Linked DNA regions of Homo sapiens: region 1 is linked to region 2. The links are contacts of gene promoters, found by promoter capture Hi-C in blood cells and fetal thymus (Javierre and others, 2016). All regions are on one chromosome and are shown on one strand. Each heading gives the region's core, a stretch centred on a gene start or on the middle of the fragment in contact. The rest is flanking DNA. Distances are from core to core; before and after follow the strand shown. Region 1 overlaps CTNNA1-AS1 (CTNNA1 antisense RNA 1). Region 2 holds the start of MATR3 (matrin 3).

Region 1 (2,700 bases), core at 167-2,666, 540 kb after region 2:
TTTTTTTTGTGTGTGTGTGTCTGTGTGTGACGGAGTTTCACTTTTGTCACCCAGACTGCAACCTCTACCTCCTGGATTCAAACGATTCTCCTGCCTCAGCTTACCAAGTAGCTGGGATTACAGGTGCACACCACCACGCCCGGCTAATTTTTGTATTTTCAGTAGAGACGGAGTTTTACCGTGTTGGCCAGGCTGGTCTCGAACTCTTGACCTCAGGTGATCCGCCTGCCTCAGCCTCCCAAAGTGCTGGGATACAGGCATAAGCCACCGCACCCGGCCTGTTTTTTCTTTATAAATTACACAGTCTCAGGTATTTCTTTTTAGCAGTGCAAGAACAGCCTAACACAATAGTAATCAGTCAATAAAGTATTTGGATAAAGTAACAAGAGACAGAGTTAAAGGATTATGCTCCATAACTTTGTATATTCATCATTTCACTCGGGACAAGATTCTTAATTTTAAGGCCCCTTGTTCAAAAACTATTAACCATTTTAAGACAGCAACAGCAGAGTATTAAACCAAGCATGGGCTCTTTCTTTATTATTATTATTTTTTTATTTTTATTTATTTATTTATTTATTTTTGAGACGGAGTCTTGCTCTGTCACCAGGCTGGAGTGCAGTGGTGTGATCTCGGTTCACTACAACCTCCGCCTCCTGGGTTCAAGCGATTCTCCTGCCTCAGCCTCCCAAGTAGCTGGGACTACAGGCGCCTGCCACCACGCCCAACTAATTTTTGTATTTTTAGTAGAGATGGGGTTTCAGCATGTTGGCCAGGATGGTCTCAATCTCTTGACCTTGTGATCTGCCTGCCTCAGCCTCCCAAAGTGCTGGGATTACAGGTGTGAGCCACTGCGCCCAGCCAGCATGGGATCTCTCTAAGCATGGGACCCTGAAGATGAAATTACAGGGTTTGTTTTGGGAAAAGAAGGGTAAGGTGACAGGAAGATATGAGAGATTTGCAGTGTGCCTAAAGAGAGTCAGTTTCCTACTCCTGAGAAATCGTGAAAAGCTTACCAGGGAAGGCTGGAGCATTCTCTATATCCCAGGCACTTGCTGTGTGCTGAGGAAGTGAATAAAAACTGAGACTGACTTGATCCCTGTTTTCACACCACTTAAAGGTAATGATGAAGACAGATACTAAAACAGGTAAACTGACTGGGCACGGTGGCTCATGCCGGTAATTCCAGCATTCTGGGAGGCTGAGGCGGAGGATCGTTTGCGTTCAGGAGTTGGAGACCAGCCTGCACAACATGGCAAAACCCTGTCTTTACAAAGGATACAAAAATTAGCTGGGTGTGGTGGCATGCACCTGTAGTCCCAGCTATGTGGAGAGGGCTGAGGTGGGAGGATCACTTGAGCCAGGGAGGTGGAGTTTGATGTGAGGCGAGATTGCACCACTGCACTCCAGCCTGAGCAACAGATTGAGACCCTGTGTCAATACACACACACACACACACACACACACACACACAGGCACACACGTAAACCAGGAAAAAAGAAAGGCAAGTGTGAAGATAGGGGAGAGATACATGTAGGTTTGTGGGTAAATTAACTACCCTGGGATTCGGAGACCTGAGAAGTGACCTTTATGTGGTGACTCATCTCCAGTCTGGCTTTAGCATTCGCCTTTCCACCAAAACTGCTTTTATGAAGGTCCCTGATGGCCTCCACGTTGCAAAATCCAATGGTCCGTCCTTCCTCAGTTGACTTGTACAATCAGCAGCATTTGGTCACTCTCCTCCTTGAAACACTTTCTTCATTGGGCCTCCAGGGCACCAGGCTTTCCTGATTTCCATCCAGCCTTCCTGGCTAAGCTTCTTAGTCTCCATTGATGATGACTTCTAATTCCTCCTAACCTCTAAATGTTAGAGCAGGGATTCTCAAAGTATAGTCTGGACATCACTGATAACTTTTCAGGGAGTAATGTGGTAAAAACTATTTTCACAATAATTCTAAAATATCATTTGCTTTTTTATGCTCATTTTCTCCCGGGTGTACAGTAGAGTATTCCACAGGCTAAATGATGTATGATGTGGCATCACATGCAATGTGAAAGCACATATGAGAATCCAGCTATCTTTTATTAAGTCAGATAGAGATTTGTAAAAATGCAAAACAACAACAGTTCTCCCTGAATTTTTCTTTTGTTTTAGAAAACATGGTTATTTTTCTTTTCAAAAATGTTATTTATTGATAAGATGTAATGGACTTGCTATTGTTATTTTTTAATGAATTAATAAATATTTTGAAATTGTTTATTTTAATTTCTAATACAGGGTCTTGCTCTGTTGCCCAGGCTGGAGTGCAGTGGTGCTATCATAGCTCAGTGTAGCCTTGATCTCCCAGGTGCAAGCAATCCTTCCACCTCAGCCTCCCCAGTAGCTGGGACTACAGATGCACACCACCACGTGTGGTTAATTTTTAAATTTTTCTTTTGTAGAAACAGGGGTCTCACTCTGTTGACCAAGCTGGTTTTGAACTCCAAGCCTCAGTGATCCTGCTGCCTCAGCCTCCCAAAGTGTTGAGATTACAGGTGTGAGCCACCCTGCCAGGCCTATAGTAAATATTGATAGATAAAACTTTCATAAGCAAGAGTTCTTTGAGATCTTCAAATTTTTTATAGTGTAAAGGAGTCTTGAGATCAAAAAAAGTTAAAAACTTTGGCTGGGTGCGGTGGCTCACACCTGTAATCCCAGCA
Region 2 (2,700 bases), core at 42-2,541:
CGCAGTACCAATACAAAATCTCGTGACCCCTACCTACGAAATCAACGATTCTTCACATTATTCCAGCGCGCCCGAAAGACTAGCCATTTCAGAACCACCATAACCGTTCTAGAAATATCTGGCTAAAAAACTGTAACTGATCCAATAGGAATATTCCACAGAACAGGGCCACAGAGCAGGATAAACACCTAGGGGATATTCATCCACGGTAAATGCCGAACACAGAACATGGCACAGAGCTCGAAATGCAAAGAACGATGCGGCGACTACACCACGGTACTCCAAAACCCTTTGTCTGGAAACCGGAAGGTCCCACACCACACGATCCTCTCTGGAGGAACCTGGACTAATACTATTTTGATAAAGAGAAAAAGGATGTGAGGTGACTTGACTAAACAAGTGCAAATCACCCGCCTCGCACTGTACTGCAGGCGGCTTGTTCCACGACGCAGTACGAAAAACAAGCGTTAACGTTTCATTTTTCGGCCATTTTTACGCGATGGGGGGCGGGGAGGAATTGTTTCTGATGTCCAGCTAACGCCGCGCGCGCGCGCGCGTGTGGGCCGGGAGTCTTAGGGGGCGCTCTGAGGCGATGGGCAAGGAGCGGCGTGAAGGCCGAGACACCGGGAAAAGAAAGAAACGCTGCTCAAACAAGCAGGCTCTTCAGAGTCTGCGAAATCCTCCATTTTGGGGGAACATTTTCAGAGAAAAAAAGGCGAACGGGTTATTTGGCACTGGCGCTACCCAAGGACTTAGATATCTTAACCATCCTCCTCAAACGGCAAGCCCCCAGTGTACAGTCTGTCCCTCAGGCCTCGAGCGAGCTCCTCCCTCCCCCTCAGCGCCGCGGCCCGCGTGTAACGGGCTAGTCGTCCCGCCCCCGCCCACAACGAGCCCAGGACGCGCAGGAAGCTCGGCCGGTCAGCGCACCTCTTCACCCAAAATCTCCCGCCGCACCCTGGGCCCTTGGCCGGCCGCGTGTTTCCCTCCCGGACCGCTCACCTCCGCCGCCCTAGAAGGCTGGTTGCGCCGCCACTGCGCTCCTAACATGGCGGCCGCCGATCAGGCGGCTCACATACGCAACGCGGAGGGAGGCAGAGCGGGAGCGAGCAAGAAAGGCGCGCCGCCGGCTCCCCGCAGCCCCTGTCGCCGTCGTTGTCCCCTCCCGGCGGACACGGAGAACCCCCAGCCACCCGACCCCGACTCTTACCCGCTTCACGCCTACCTTAGGGAAAGGGAGAGGGAAAAGGAGAGGTACCTCTCTCCCAGCGAGCGGGACGCGGAGACTCCCACAATCCCCCGCAGCAACGGCGCTGGCGAGAAGCGGCGGCAGCGGCTGCAGCCCAAGAACAAACCCACTCTCGCGAGAGAGCTCGCCCCCACCCCCTCGATCTGGTTCGGCGCGCGCCAGGCCCCTCCCCCTACTCAGCGCGCGCACCTCGCTCGTGCACTCGCCTGCGGTCGTTGTTCTTTAATCCCGGAGATCCCTCTCCGTCATCCAGCTGAGGCGGGAAATGGAGGAACAGACGTGGCTTACGAGTTCGAGTCCCATTCCCGAAAAGGCTGTTTGTCAACCTCCTGAATAGCATAATACAAAGTTTAAATAGGGTATGCCTTAGAAGGGATTCGCGAGAGTCCCTGGCTTAGACTCGACTTTTATGCTCTCTGGTTGTTCTGTTTGCCAAGGAATGGTGGAAAGCGCCAGATATTGGGGCCACAAAGGGAAAACGATACCATTTTGGCTGGTTTTTATTTAGGTATGTTTATTTATTTATCATAAATAAACTGTGTTGCTCAGGTTGGAGTGCGCTGGCGTTATCATGGCTCATTGCAGCCTCGAACTCCTATCCTCAAGGGATCCTCCCACCTCAGCCTCCCCAGTAGCTGGGACTACAGGCTCGCACCACCATGGCCAGCTAACTTTTTTATTTTTATTTTTTCCGTAGAGATGGTGTCTCGTTATTTTGCCTAGGCTGGTCTGGAACTCCTTGGCTCAAGCAGTGCTCCCGCCTCCGCCTCTCAGCATTGGATTAAGGGCGTGAGCCTACACGCCCAGCCAGCTGTTTTTTTTGTTTTGTTTTTTGTTTTGAGACGGAGTCTCACTCTGTCACCCAGGCTGGAGTGCAGTGGCGCGATCTCGGCTCACTGCAAACTCCGCCTCCCGGGTTCACGCCATTCTCCTGCCTCAGCCTCCGGAGTAGCTGGGACTACAGGCGCCCGCCACGACGCCTGGCTAATTTCTTTTTGCATTTTTAATAGAGGCGGGGGTTTCACCGTGTTAGCCAGGATGCTCTCGATCTCCTGACCTTGTGATCCGCCCGCCTCGGCCTCCCAAAGTGGCCAGCTGGTTTTTAAAATCAGGAATTCTGTGCAGGAGGGTCGTTGAGGCGGAGGACCGCGAGCCTTTTCCTTCCTAAAGACCACCGCCGCCTTTTGGTGAATTTGACTGAATGCAATACACTCTTGGGACTGAGGTACTGGTTAGGTACCCGGGTTGGAGGGATTTGAGCTCCGGCCTTCAGAGGCTTAAGTAAATTGTTTGGAGACCTAATCTGGCTGCAACTCTCTCCCCAACCATCCTTGCAGAACTCCGCATCTGGAGAGTTGGGAATTTTCCAGCACAGTTAATGATTATAATATGGAGTGCTTTCTATAAGGTGGGCAATGCAATAAGCAGTTTACACATAACCCTACAATAAC

The links. The method cuts DNA at HindIII sites, captures the fragments that hold promoters and counts their contacts. A CHiCAGO score of 5 or more calls a contact.
Region 1: a fragment that was not itself captured here is called in contact with the fragment with the promoter of MATR3 in region 2 in 1 of 17 cell types (endothelial precursors); the score reaches 5.2 in endothelial precursors.

The regions. Positions count from the first base shown.
Region 1 is chr5:138,747,679-138,750,378 of GRCh38, reverse strand. The region is part of intron 1 of CTNNA1-AS1 (CTNNA1 antisense RNA 1); the gene reads left to right. Among named protein-coding and RNA genes, the nearest start is that of CTNNA1, 4.4 kb to the left of the region's middle. The HindIII fragment of the contact is 805 bases long and covers 1,014-1,818 here.
Region 2 is chr5:139,292,331-139,295,030 of GRCh38, reverse strand. It overlaps MATR3 (matrin 3), which reads right to left and starts at 1,291. Exons shown (of 15, transcript NM_018834.6): 1 at 1,226-1,291. LOC124901081 (a long non-coding RNA gene) reads left to right here and starts at 1,474. Exons shown (of 4, transcript XR_007058956.1): 1 at 1,474-1,757. RefSeq lists enhancers at 1-515, 516-1,219. The HindIII fragment of the contact is 8,607 bases long and covers 1-2,700 here.